Regions from separate parts of the Homo sapiens genome. Here all the other regions are linked to region 5. The links are contacts of gene promoters, found by promoter capture Hi-C in human tissues and cell types (Jung and others, 2019). All regions are on one chromosome and are shown on one strand. Each heading gives the region's core, a stretch centred on a gene start or on the middle of the fragment in contact. The rest is flanking DNA. Distances are from core to core; before and after follow the strand shown. Region 1 has its middle 190 kb from the start of SALL1. Region 2 has its middle 140 kb from the start of SALL1. Region 3 overlaps LOC107984886 (a long non-coding RNA gene). Region 4 has its middle 230 kb from the start of SALL1. Region 5 holds the start of SALL1 (spalt like transcription factor 1).

Region 1 (2,836 bases), core at 253-2,752, 190 kb after region 5:
TCTCAAAAGAAGACATTTATGCAACCAACAGACACATGAAAAAATGCTCATCATCACTGGCCATCAGAGAAATGCAAATCAAAACCACAACGAGATACCATCTCACAACAGTTAGAATGGTGATCATTAAAAAGTCAGGAAACAACAGGTGCTGGAGAGGCTGTGGAGAAACAGGAACACTTTTACACTGTTGGTGGGACTGTAAACTAGTTCAACCGTTGTGGAAGACAGTGTGGTGATTCCCCAAGGATCTAGAACTGGAAATACCACTTGACCCAGCCATCCCATTACTGGGTATATACCCAAAGGATTATAAATCTTGTTGCTATAAAGACACATGCAGATGTATGTTTATTGTGACACTACTCACAATAACAAAGACTTGGAACCAACCCAAATGTCCAGCAATGATAGACTGGATTAAGAAAATGTGGCACATATACACCATGGAGTACTATGCAGCCATAAAAAAGGATGAGTTCATGTCCTTTGTAGGGACATGGATGAAGCTGGAAACCATCATTCTCAGCAAACTATCGCGAGGACAAAAAACCAAACACCGCATGTTCTCACTCATAGGTGGGAATTGAACAATGAGAACACATGGACACAGGAAGGGGAACATCACACACAGGGGCCTGTCATGGGGTTGGTGGAGAGGGGAGGGATAGCATTAGGAGATATACCGAATGTAAATGATGAGTTAATGGGTGCAGCACACCAACATGGCACATGTATACATATGTAACAAACCTGCACATTGTGCACATGTACCCTAGAACTTAAAGTATAATAATTTAAAAAAAGCAAATAAAAAAATGGGTAACCCCATCGTTTTCCACAAACTGATTAAGTTTGGATGCCATCTACCCAGTTTTCTTCTCTAATCCATTATATCTCTTTATTCTTTCAACAAACATTAAACCCAATTCTGTGATAGGAACAGAAAGCACAGAGAAAAACTGAGGTAAGTGTCCACCTCTCCTGGGTAGAATGGTCCCGATATTCTGGCACAAGCTCATGGGTTGTCACACTCTCCCATCCTCAGCCTCTGTCACTTCTCCACACCTGTATCCCACCCCAGCCGGAGGCTTGGACTGTCATGCCAGCACCTCCCTCCTGGCTTGCAGATCCTTCAAGCCAGTGGTTCTGCACACCTGATGGCGGTCCTCTGCCTACAGGTGTCTTCCTTAAACATTTTCCCAATGATTAAAAGGTCATTAGTGAGGTGCTGTGGAAGGAAGGCTACAGAAGCAAAATACATTTAGACAATGCAGTATCCTTTATCCTCTTCTTGGAGACTCTTAAGAAACACTGAAAAACATAAGACTCCTGGATGTTCTGGGGTGATGAAGTCTATTTAACTTTGTTTCACCAAACACTCTCCAAGCTTAGGTGGCCACAGGGCGATTGGTCCCACGACACTTAATATCGTTCACTCTTCTTTTCCCATCACCATCTCCATTTTCTTTTCCTGTTTTGTCTTTCTCCTTGGAACTTAGCACTTTCTCAAATTCAGTTTGTCACATGTGTATATTGAATATTCTGTTTCTGTCCTCCCCACATTCCTATTGGAATTCAAGCTTTATGGAGTTAAGGATGAACACACACACACGCACGCACTAACAGGCACGTGCACGCATGCACAGGCACACGCACCTAGAATAGTGCCTGTAACATGGTGAATCCTCAACTCACTACATATTTGTTGTAGTGAGTTGTAGCATGCTTAGGCCAGCATGCCTCTCTCAGTCCATGTTAGACAATATCGGGATCAAGCAGAAATCACTTAGCTGCTAGCTCCAGGAAATACCTGCTCTTGTGAATCAACCAAAACACTTACTTTTTATCAGTTTTGATGACTGACTTCTTGCTCATCAAAGTTTGCTTCAGGACCCTTGCCTCACTCTGTCTGCTAATTCGAAACCACTTGTTAGAAATTCTGTCCTGTGCCAATAGCTCTCCTACCTTGTAAGACCCCCCCTTAAAATCACTCACCCTGGCCCTAAAGCCCCATCAATGCCTTCCTTAATTGTCCCCATATTGAGATTCTATCAAGGTGGTGTTCTGCGTCACCGCAGCTGGTCTGATCAACTTAGCTGTGCTCAGTCCACAGGTTTTCTGACGGTCCTTGGCAAGGCCAGTGATTGACAATTCAATTATTGTAGTATGAATGAATCCTGTTGACTGCTAATCCAAAGAATCAACTTTGGCAAACAGGTGTTTTAACAGGCCAGGAGCAAGCTTCTCAGCCTGCAGTTCAAGGTCTTTGGGTCACATTTCTCACCATATGCTGTACCCTGGCTATTTCAGATACTCTTACACCTTAGCTTGCATTCTTCTGTCAACCGCTCACAGGAGTGGTTCACTGGCTTGTTGATGAGCCTCCCTAATCTCTCACAATTTCAGGGACTACATTTAGGGCATGCAAATCTACTGAAAAATCTTTGGGTCCAAGTAGACCACACTTTTTGATTAACTTATATAAGAGCAGGATCTTGCTTTTCTCACTGGTCACATAGGTATTAGAATTCCTCCTCTGCCCTTCTTGAAGCATTTGTATTATAATTTAAAGCCTGCTAGAGCTGCCTTAAATGACTACAAACTTGCTGGCTTAAAACAATAGAAATGTATCATCTCACTGTTTTGGAGGCCAGAAGTCCAAAGTCAAGGCATTAGCAGGGCCACACTCCCTCTGAAGGCTCTAGAGGAGAACATTCCTTTGTCTTTTTTAGCCCCTGGTGGCGGCTCCAGGCATCCCTTGGCTTGTGGGTGACATCCTGGCTGCCTAACTCCAGTTACTGCTTTGATCTTTACGTAGCCTGTGTCTCTCCTT
Region 2 (2,880 bases), core at 124-2,623, 140 kb after region 5:
AAGAGCTTTCTTATCTTTTTGTTCTCTTCTGCATGGAGTCATCATTCATACATTCATTCATTCACTCACTTATTCAGCTATATTTACTGGATTCACTTGTAACTGACAATTCCAAAGAAACCTACATTCCAGTAAAGAAAGTAAAATAATAAACACATGGGCAAATAAATGATAGATTATATTTCTTAGGATTGTGAAAAGTATTAAGTTTTTAAAATTTAAAATAGTTTATTAGTGTAAGGTTCTGAGCCCAATGCCTGGTACTTAGTATCTGCTTTGCAAACATTGAAGTTTTGTGCTAACTCAGCACTCGAGACTCTTAGGTAAACCTGTCTTCAATGAATTTATAGTCAAATGCAGGAGACTGATGTGTTTAAAGATAAATTATATTAGATGGGGCTACTATCTCTTTAGAGAGGTTAACTGAGGCCAAGAGGCCATTGATAAGATCATTGAGCCCGTTGGAGATGTTTGGACGAGCAGTCATGCCCAGCAAGAGGTTAGAGAAGATGACCTCTTAAGGCCTTCTGCTTGCCTGACCCTGTTTTGCTTGCTCCATGAGGTGGCTCCCATTTAGCCAGAGCTGTTTAAATGGGTGTAGACCATAGAAGGGGAAAATTACATGCAGTTACTCCTGCAACACTCATTTGCCTGCTAACTTGGTGCCATTTACAAATGGTTTTCACATAGTCTTTAAAGTAGGGCTTCTCAACCTGGGGGAAGAAATCTTGAAATTGCACGCATCATATTTAGTGGATATACAAGAAAATATATATACATTTTTTTGTTCCTGAGGAGAAGGACAATAGCTTCATCAGTGTTTCCAAGGCATTTTGTGTCACAAGCACCACTTAGTTAAGTTGACAACACTTAGGGTATTTCAGAATTATGAACCTATTTTCTAATTTTTTTAAAAATACAAGGCTTTCCTCCTAATTTGGGGTGAGATTTCTAAACCTACTAAATTCATATAGCTTTATATTTGCTGATTCAATAAATATTTATTGAGCAACAGGTAAGGCCCAGCATTGCTGAAGATTCTGTAAAAACAGCAAGGCCATGTCAAAGGAAGTTCCTGCTCTAAGGTTCCCTTCTGGGAAGCAAGGAGAGAAGAGACTAAACAAGTAAAGAAACATAAGATAACCTCAGTTGGTGCTAAGTGCTCTGGAGAAACGAAAGCTGAGTGATGCCATAGAGAAGGAAGAGGGCATTGCTTTCTATTGAATAGTCAGGGAAGGTCTCTTTGCCAAGGCAGCATTATAGCAGACACCTGAATTGACAAGATAGAGTCAGCTAAACAAAGATTCAGGAGAAGAATATTTCAGGCATTTTAAGCAAGACAATGGCTTATGCAAATGTTCTGAGGCAGAAATCAGCATGGTGGATTTCAAGGATGCAATGAGGCAGTGTGGCTCTAGAGTCATGAATAGGGGGAGAGGTGATATAAGATGAAGCAGAAACATAGGTGGAGGCAGGATCTCCTAGGGCCTGGTAAGACTTGATTAAGAGTTTGAATTGGATTTTCATGTCGTGGGAAATCACTGGAAGTTATTACCAAGGCCTCATAGTTTCCCATGGCATGCGATGCTTCTGACAATATGAATGTGTTCCTCTATTTGGACAGAATAGCAACACACCCTTATTCTTTTAAGAAGAGACCTTGGGTGTGACCTTCCCAATTGAGTTTAGAATATCACTTTGTATCCCATAAATATGTACAATTTTGTGTCAGTTAAAAATAAAACAAACCAAAATACCCTCACCAACAAGCCCTGCAGTTGAAAGATACTCCGCTAAGGTACGCTGAGAGAATGCAAGGCCAGCTGTGCTTCAAGAATGCAATCTTTTCTATTACAATGCAAAGCAGCTTAGCTCACCAGTGCCTTCAACCTCTGCATCATAGATGGGGAAAGTTGGTGCCACTCTGCATAAGCAGACAGCCTCTTAGAGCATTTTTCTCAAAATAAAGTTTATCTTTCCTCAGATTTTAAATGAACCTTTATTCTAGAAGAAAACAAATCAATAAAAGCATGCACATAGCTCTGTGCTTACATTTATAAAATTAATTTAGGAATGGTTTTTTTAAAAAGTTAGTGTAAAACAGGTCTATCCCAAATTGGGTCCTTTAGGAAGCAGACTCTGAGATAGAGATTATCAAGTGGGAAGTTTATAAAGGAAGACTCTTGAGATCGACGCCTGTGAGGGAAAATGCGGAAGCAGAATTGGGGCTGAGGGAGTGGCTGGGCTGTGATGCTGTCACAGTAATGCAGTGATTCCATGGGGACCTCTGAAGCTGGGCTGGCTCTTCAGAATGGTCCTTAGTTGAGTGAGGAAACCAGGACTTTACATCACTGCTCTAGACTAAATATCTTATGTAGACTACCTCTAGAAGGAAGGGACTTGGGCGAGGCAGCTTTCTTTAGCTGAGGCACTATCTGAAGAAGGCTGATAGCTGAGGACTGTCTAGTACTGTAGGCAGTAGCCCAACAGCTGGGGCAACGTTTTTCTTCTCCAAAGGTGGATCTGAGGGGGGAAATATGGGTGTAAAGTGGAAAAGAAAAGCATCCCTTTTCCCTACCTTTTATACTCTATCTACTCCACAGAGGAACCATATTTGATTGTTTCTATTTTTAGTTTCTCCAAGTTGATTTCAAATGTCCACATGCAATGCACACAACTCTACTTCTTGGTCTATGAATTCTGAACAGTGTTTGTCAGCTTCCTAATAAGAAAGATGAGGGTCTGAACTAATTCTCCTCATGTCCTCCTTCCAATTTTGTTAGGTATATTATTTCAAGTTTTTCTGTTGGAGGGCTTTATATCTGTTAAATAATGTATTTCTATTTTCAAATTTATTAACATTACATTGTATCATCCCTC
Region 3 (2,700 bases), core at 65-2,564, 170 kb after region 5:
ATCAAAGTAAAGCTTTGGACTGTGAATAATTCAGTCAACCTGCAAGCCTCGATTATCTGCTCCGAGTTTGTGAAGACCATTGCTGTTGTCCCCGAGGTGTATTGATAAGTTAACATGATCGTAACTCTCAAGATGTTTATGGTTCAGTACCAGGAGCAAGAGAGATAAGTGTGATCATCAGAATTGTAGAAATATAAAAGTGGTGCAGAGGAGAAAGACTGAGATGAATGAAGTTGACAAGGATAACAGGTTGAACACTCCATAGTGGAAAGAGGCAGTGAGATGGGAAATTATTCCATAAAGCTTCCTTCAAAGAGTGTCAGCAAGATGCAATGCCAATGGAATAGAAAAATCTTTAGAATCACAGTGTCATATTTGAGGGACCTTTGACTTTACATGAAATTACCACTGCATGAGTACAGCAACACTTTAATCTTGGATATTCCTTTATTATTTATTCATCCAACCTAGCTTGCATAAATATTTCCTTGGGCTTTTTTGTTTTTCCATGTTTGTTGGCACTGATTTTTCAGCAAAGGAGCCTCTTAGACTGAATGTGCTGTTAAACTGTGGCCTCCTAGGCCTAACCCACTTGATAGCCTGCAGTTTGTGATGGTACCTCTGCTGCCCACTCCAACCACATCCCCTTCTTCTACCTGCCTGATCCACCCAGATCCCCTCTGATTAATTATTCACACCTATATATCTTCAACTTCCATTAGGACCTCCCTCACGTTGTGGTGCTTCTTTACCCGCAAAATGCAGAGCCCTGGCCGGGTGCGGTGGCTCACGCCTGTAATCCCAGCACTTAGGGAGGCCGAGGTGGGCGGATCACGAGGTCAGGAGATGGAGACCATCCTGGCTAACATGGTGAAACCCCGTCTCTACTAAAAATACAAATAATTAGCTGGGAGTGGTGGCGGGCGCCTGTAGTCCCAGCTACTCGGGAGGCTGAGGCAAGAGAATGGCGTTAACCCAGGAGGCGGAGCTTGCAGTGAGCCGAGAATGAGCCACTTTGATCCAGTAGGAATGCAGGCCGAGGGCTTCCCCTACAGGGTCTTACTGAAGCTGGGACTTTACCTGAAGTCACAGCCTGGCTTAAGTTCCTCCCCTTCCCTGTCCTGCTTCTTCCACTTTTCTGATAGTTTCTACTGGGAGCGATTCCTTAACCATCACTTATATACAATCATCTTGCCAGCTCAAGAGGCTCCAGCCTAAGTGGTGTTTCTTACAGTATTGTCTATTATAAGAAGCTAGGAGGCTTCTTATAATGGCAGGCTCTAAGTCCCCACCTCAGACCTTTTAAAACAGAATCTTGGGGGAGGTGGGGCAGGCCAGAGAATCTGCCATTTATTAACAAGACCCCCAAGTTAGCTTTTATTTTTTCTTAAATATAAGATGTTGATTAATAAATATTAAATTTTAATTAATAATTAACTTTCTTAAGGTTTTGCTTAATAAAAACTAAAGTTTTACTTATGGGGCAGTGACATTTAAAGCAAGTATACATCAAGTATTTGGGGATGAGGATTAATGAGGTAGGTTATAAATAATACCTCAGTTGGCCTTGCCTCAGGGTCTATTAAATGATTGAATGATCTGAATCTAGAGGTAATGCTGGCCGGGCATGGTGGCTCACACCTGTCATTCCAACACTTTGAGAGACAGAGGCAAGGGGATCGCTTGAGCCCAAAAGTTCAAGAGACCAGTCCAGGCAACATAGCAAGAACCCATCTCTATTTTTTTTTTAAATGTCGATGTTCTGTGTTGATGGCATTTTGTGTATGTGTGTGCCTGCGTATGTAATGTCTGGACAAATCTTAGAAACACTATTTTCCCCCCCTCAACAGTAATTTTTTTTCCTCAGAAAATTTACTCTGGAAGCCAAATTCAGTGGTTTTCTATATTATTTTACTTTTTAAAATATTTTAATCAATGAAACACTTTAATTGAGTTTAGGTAGAAGTTCAATGTGTAGTGTGGACAAGCGCTGAGCTGTTCCACCTGATGGAGGTGGAGAGACTGGGATCCTGCCTGCTTCAATTCCTTCCCATTCTCTGATCAGAGCTACTTCCACTAACTCCTATTAGTTATTGAAAGGAGATTAATTGCCCTGTTATCTCAAGGATCTCCTAGAGCTCTTGCTGAGTGGAAGAGAAAAAGATAGATGAGCACTTTTTTTTCTAGGTTGCAGGCTTGGTACTTTGAGGGACTCAACTTTTTGGCAATGGAAAATGATATCCACTTGTTTGACCTAGCTACAAATGTATTGAATTATTATTATTATTATTATTTGAGACACAGTCTCACTTTGTCACCCAGGCTAGAGTGCAGTGGTGTGATCTCAGCTCACTGCAACCTCCGCCTCCTGGGTTCAAGTGAATCTCCTGCCTCAGCCTCCTGAGTAGCTGGGATTACAGGCGTGTACCACCACGCCAGGCTAATGTTTGTATTTTTAGTATAGATGGGGTTTCACCATGGTGGTCAGGCTGGTTTCAAACTCCTGACCTCAAGTGATCCACCAGCCTCCTAAAGTGCTGGGATTACAGACGTGTGAGGGGTCTAGAAATGACCCTTCTTGGACTCTCAGCCCCCAGGTTTTAGTGGGAGCCTGGATTTTAGCTTCCAGAGCCTGGAAGAACTTTACTAACCAGGTCTAGGCCTGAACCTTGGCTTTATTCACCTTGTGACTTATTGCAG
Region 4 (2,709 bases), core at 148-2,647, 230 kb after region 5:
CACATCCTTTCTTTCACCTCCATTAGAATCTTCCCGGTTGGCAGGGAGGACGTCTCATTTCTCCATCAGTTAAGGGTATTTTCATAGTGTTTCTTTGTGTGTCTTCTAGGAAAACAAAATTCTTTCCTGCCTCTAGTATACAATTACAGCATTAAATATTCCCTTAAATATCCACTTCCATGATTCTGATATGTGCCCATCTCCCAGGGGGTGGTACCTTTCCTCCCCCAATTTCAGAATTACTGCTCCAGTTAATCTCTGAACCCTTTTACAACTCAAAATTCTGCAGGCCAATTCGTTGCCAACATTTGGTCAGGAGATGAGTGGAGAAGAGAGGGATTTAAAAAATATATTGGGCAGCTTTGTTCTTAAGCTGGTATTGGTGCCATTATGGATCTGGAGAGGTTTTGTAGTCAGATTTTGATTATTTGCTAGTTTTGGCAACTGTTGAGATGTTAGATCTCATATTGTTTCTATCATATTTTATAGTTTCTTGTTTAACTCTTTGCTGAACGTTTTAGACACACATCAAGACTCTCAAGCTTGATTTAAAACAGAATTGGCAATTGTGCCTCTCTTTTTACTTCAGGCTCTCCTGGCAGGACCTGACTCCAGGTTGTTGGGCAATGTTAAATCCCTATGCTGTGTTAGGGGATGGTAGTGCACTGAGTGGCCATCGTGATCTCAAACACAGGAAAAGACTTTACTGCATTTAAAGAAGGTAGTGCATTTAAAGAAGATTGGAATCCCCACAAGTGGGACCAATCAATCTGTATTGGCTTTATAAATTTATTCTTATTTGACACTTTGATACTTCTCTTTGAAATGCCTGACCCTACATGTTTCTTTTTAAATTATTACAGATTTCCCAAGATTGTTTACCATTCTGCTTTATGCCTTCCTTTGATACTGTCCTCTGGTCAAAGAAGCTCCATAACCCTCCCACCCCTGATGATCCCCACCACCATTGAGTTCAGTCTATGCATTTTAAAACTCCATCTTCAGGAACTTTTGAGGAAACTCTTACCTCCCCACACCCTCACTCCAAACAATAGTGCATTGGAGGTGATTTCAAATACAGTTCATTGAGGCTGAGGAAATGGACAAAAACTTCTGTGTGTTTGCCCTTAAAAAGAGAGGCTGCTTGCCTGGTTGAGTCTTTGACAACAGGCTGTGTTTCCTACCAGCTCTTAACTGTGGGCCCACACTGACATTTTTGTAGCCACATATTACATGATTGGTTTTTGATTTTTCAGTTCATAGCTTAAAATCACATTGATAAGAATATGACCTCCAAGCATTGGAAAATCAACTCCAGGTCCTGAATTCTCTGCATGCCAATGCTCTAAGTCACATGAGCAGAGTGCCGTGTTAGGTACATTACATAAACCATGCAGACTCTAGGTTAAATGGTTCTGGATTTTGTAATGTGAAAAGACCTCTGGTGACACAGCTGGGAATGTAGGTAATAGGTGTCACTTGACTATTATTGCTATATGCCTAAGAGCTGTTCGGAGGTAATCATGGTAGACATTAGCTTATTAGTTGCCACACCAGCAAACATTCTCTCTATCCCTCTTCACGTCATCCCTTGCACAAGTTAAGGTAGTACAATTTGCTTAACAGAGAAAAACCAACAGCTCAGCAGCTTGACATCACAGAGATCTCTTGCTTGGGTAAAATTCAATTGGAGGTGGAAGTTGAAGGGAGGCTCTGCTCCAGGCAGTCATTCAGGTATTGAAGTTATTCCATCTGTTATCCTATTCTCCACTAGGGTTTTAGAATCTTTTCCATTTATCCAGTGAATGGGGAAAAAGAGAGTGCAAAGAATTTTGTGGAAGATTTTCATGGGTCAGGGCAAGAAGTAGCCAACATTCACTAGCCATAACTCTATCACATGGCCCAAAGAGGTTAGGAAACGTGGTCTTGCTGTATGTATGTCTAGAATGAAAAAGCCCAGTGCTGTCCCTAGACCTGACACAAAAGGCCTCTGGCCTGTGCCCTCAGCTTGAGAGAGTTCTACAAATCACAAACATATGCATAAGAATACACTTATGACAGAATACATAGCTGCCTCTATCATGTGGATCTGGTGCTTAGCCCTGGCACAGCATGACCTAGTCTGCTTCTGTGGCTAATACAGTTCAGGCCCCAGGGAAATGCTTCTCCACCTCTCCAGTCATGTTTCCTCAAAACAACATGCAGATGGGCCTGAATGCCAGGAAGATCTGAGGGTGCCCCACTGTTGAAGTCAGAGAAAGACAGTGCTGTGGAGAGCAGGAAGAACTCAGCGATGGAAGCTTTTAGGTAACATAAAAGACAAATTACACACATCTTCTTCCCAGATAGGAAGAATGTGGTAGGTTTTGGCATAACAAAACATTATTCCCACGAACAAGGAGAACCCCTTCCCTGCTTCTCTTTGTGCTCTCCTGGGTGACATCAGAGGGACTCACAGGCAGCTTCACCCTTATTCTTCAATGTGTTGTAACTATGAAGGCATTTTTCAAGGTAGAAGTGGGGTTGCCAGATTAAGCAACTAAAAATTTAGGAAGTCTTTTTAATCTGGCAACCCAGGGCAGGTAGAACATATTTTATTAAACTGTTTGTTAGCTTGATTGATAACTTAAAAATCTTCATACATATGGAGGGTGGGCTTCTATTTATATTCTTTCCTGGGATCCCCACATATTTAGGGATGAGCCTGGG
Region 5 (2,700 bases), core at 166-2,665:
CTTCGGAGCTCTGTCGGGGCCCAGCTCCCTCCTTCACACCCCAAAATGCCGCCTAGGGCGTGGGCATCCCGAGTGGCATCCGGAGCCGCTGAGACCCCGCCGAGATTGCTCCTTGTGCGTCCTCCCACAGCCGAGAGGCCAGCATCGTGCCGGGACGACCCGGGGACCCGAGTCCGGGCGCCGCTACACCGCCTCGGGCGCTAGGCCTGGGAGCTTTGAGGCCGGTACCGTGAAACACCTTTAGGAGCAAGGAGGGATTCCAGGTGTCCTCCCTTTGTACCCCAACTCCCTGCCCGGATCTCTTCCACTCTCTGCCATAGCCCCCACACACAAACTTTGTTCTGGACTTGTTCAGCCCCTTCGGGACCCACAGTTGTCGCCTCCATCGGAGAAAACAAGTGCCCCTGTTTCAGGGGGGATTCCACTCTGGCTGGCCACCCGCAAACCTGGAAAACTATTCTATGACTTCTTCCCTGACCCCCCTGGAAGTAGGGAGCACCACGATCCGCAGAGGGCGCATACCGACCAGAAAGATTTTGGGGGGCAGAGGGTGCAAGTGTTGTGGGAAGAGATGCGGAGATAAATTTTGCGAGCCAGACCCCGACACTTTCCCCGTCCGTTTGCACCGTCTCCGGAACAACTGGCGGCCAGCAGCACTCTCCACCCCGGCCGCAACCCCAGCGGGTCAGGCGCTGGCGCCCCGACACCAGTCCCCATCTTCTTGCAGCTCTGAACCTCCAAAGACACCCGGTTCTGCCTCGCAGGCCGAGGGGGAGTGTGCGTGGGGGCAGGGGGGCGCAGCGAACTCCCCCACGCTCGGAGTTCAGCCCAGCGCCCGAAGTAAACTTCCTTACCGCTGGCAGCAAGGCCGGGCGGCGGAGGCCGGGCCGGGTGCCCTGGGGCCGGCGCCGGGAGCGCTAGGGGCCCCGTGCGGTCAGGCCGGGGCGACCTCCACCCGCACCCACGCCTCATGGGGCTCCCGGGTCTTGGCCGCGGCTGGGATCCCCGGAAAAGCAGGGACGGAGAAGCCAGGCCGGCATGCCCGCCCTCCTTCCCCCGGGAGGACCCAACAACTCCGGAAAGATCCTGCCGGGAGATGTGCTCGCTTTCCCCGGGGCAGCGGGGGAAAGCCCAGCAAAGGCACATTGAAAATTAAAAAGAAAAAAAAAATTACGCCGAGTGGAAGAAGCAATCGGGGCCGCGGCGGCGGTGAGGTAGGGGGCGCGGGGGCCAGCCGCGTGTGAGTGGGTCCGAGTGTGCGTGAGTGTGAGTGCGTGTGTGTGTGTCCACGGCGCGGGCCGGAGCACTCACCATCTCGCCGGGGGAGCGAGGCCACTTCGGGGTCGGATTGGAAATGTTGAGGCTTCGCTTGCTTCCTCCGCGACATGCTGGCTCAAACATCAGCTGGGGCAGAATAAAAAATTACTAAAAAAAAATCTTCTCAAAATTACGGAAATCGAGCGGCGGCGGCGGCGGCGGCTCCCCCCGCCCGCCGGCCCGCCCGCCCCCTCCCCGGCTCCCCGGCCCCGGGCGCAGCGCGCATGTGTCCTGCTATAATTATGATTATCAATAATGCATTGCGATTAATCATAGAGGGGCTCTTTGAAAGGCGATTGGCACCGGGCCAGCGCTATTCAAACCCGCTCGCCTTAATCAATTAGTTCGTGATTTGCTGCAGACCCCTGTCTCTCCGCGCGCTGGCCCAATAAGCCGGCCGCGGGGCTGGCTCTGCGCGCCGCGCCGCCCGACACTGGGTTAACCCTCTTTGCGACCGCCCGGGACTCCGCGGCCCGGCCGCCGGGGGCCGGCCTCCTCTCCACTGCGGGCCCGGCGCCCCGGCAGGCGCCCCCCGCTCTCTCCCTCTCCCCTCCCTCTTCCCTCCCTCCTTCGCCCCCCCCCACAATCCCGGGCTGGGCCGACCCAAATTAGCATGCCCTCCCCGGAATTGAGCCGCCCCGGGTGGGGGGTGGGGCCGGGCGGCGAGGGCTGGGGACCCGGGCTGCCGGCGCGCTGCGAACTTCCCAACTCGGGGGCGAGGCGCGCCGGCCCGCGGGGGGAGGGAGTCCCGCGGCGGGATCAGGGGGGAGGGCGTCCCGTTTCGTGAGTGTTTCTTCGTTTCTTTAAGAGCTACCAGAAAGCAGCCCACCCCCACCCCCATTAAAAAAAAAAATAAGCGAGTGGGGAAGAGCCAGCCCCACGCCGGTCCGCCTCCCGCCCACGGCTCGGCCTCCCTCCCGCCTGGCTCGGCGCTCCTCCGCCCCGAGTTCTCCATCCCCTGGATCCCGGGCTCGCGGGGGCGCGGAGAAGAGGATCCAGGAAAGGTTTGGGAACCTGATGGGTTTGTGGCTGGGGGGAGGGGCAGTTCTCCCGCCACCCCATCCCCTCCCCGCCAGGGGCACTGATCCTCCAGCTTCTTGCTTGCTCCCTCGCTCCCTTTCTCTACCTCGGACATTCCCAGGACAATTAGGGCTGAAGTTTTCGGGAGAAGCAGCCCCGAGCCCGTGGGATAAGGGGGCGGCCCGGCTCCGCCCAGGACCCCTCCCGGACCTCCCCCCCGGCTGCCCCGGTTGGCTGCAGGGCGCGTCACTCCGCGGGGAGGCGGCGGCAGCGGTGGCGCCGCAGAGCCCCGGGCGGGCGGAGAGCGGGGACCGGCCTGGGCTCCGAGTTCAGCTCCGGCCGGGGGGAGGGGAGGGGCTGCGG

Evidence for each region. Contacts are between HindIII fragments. The study calls those that stand out against the background at their distance.
Region 1: a fragment that was not itself captured here is called in contact with the fragment with the promoter of SALL1 in region 5 in 2 of the 25 tissues and cell types used here (H1 embryonic stem cells and mesendoderm cells).
Region 2: a contact is called between a fragment that was not itself captured here and the fragment with the promoter of SALL1 in region 5, in 3 of the 25 tissues and cell types used here (dorsolateral prefrontal cortex, pancreas and thymus).
Region 3: a contact is called between a fragment that was not itself captured here and the fragment with the promoter of SALL1 in region 5, in 2 of the 25 tissues and cell types used here (bladder and mesendoderm cells).
Region 4: a contact is called between a fragment that was not itself captured here and the fragment with the promoter of SALL1 in region 5, in 2 of the 25 tissues and cell types used here (H1 embryonic stem cells and mesendoderm cells).

What each region holds. Positions count from the first base shown.
Region 1 is chr16:51,335,149-51,337,984 of GRCh38, forward strand. No RefSeq gene overlaps it. Among named protein-coding and RNA genes, the nearest start is that of SALL1, 190 kb to the left of the region's middle. The HindIII fragment of the contact is 5,068 bases long and covers 1-2,836 here.
Region 2 is chr16:51,289,234-51,292,113 of GRCh38, forward strand. No RefSeq gene overlaps it. Among named protein-coding and RNA genes, the nearest start is that of SALL1, 140 kb to the left of the region's middle. RefSeq lists an enhancer at 1,607-2,117. The HindIII fragment of the contact is 5,467 bases long and covers 1-2,880 here.
Region 3 is chr16:51,318,241-51,320,940 of GRCh38, forward strand. LOC107984886 (a long non-coding RNA gene) reads left to right here. Exons shown (of 4, transcript XR_001752175.1): 4 at 1-818. Among named protein-coding and RNA genes, the nearest start is that of SALL1, 170 kb to the left of the region's middle. The HindIII fragment of the contact is 4,498 bases long and covers 1-2,700 here.
Region 4 is chr16:51,380,999-51,383,707 of GRCh38, forward strand. No RefSeq gene overlaps it. Among named protein-coding and RNA genes, the nearest start is that of SALL1, 230 kb to the left of the region's middle. The HindIII fragment of the contact is 5,047 bases long and covers 1-2,709 here.
Region 5 is chr16:51,149,855-51,152,554 of GRCh38, forward strand. It overlaps SALL1 (spalt like transcription factor 1), which reads right to left and starts at 1,416. Exons shown (of 3, transcript NM_002968.3): 1 at 1,312-1,416. The coding sequence starts at 1,387. RefSeq lists an enhancer at 613-1,113. The HindIII fragment of the contact is 9,229 bases long and covers 1-2,700 here.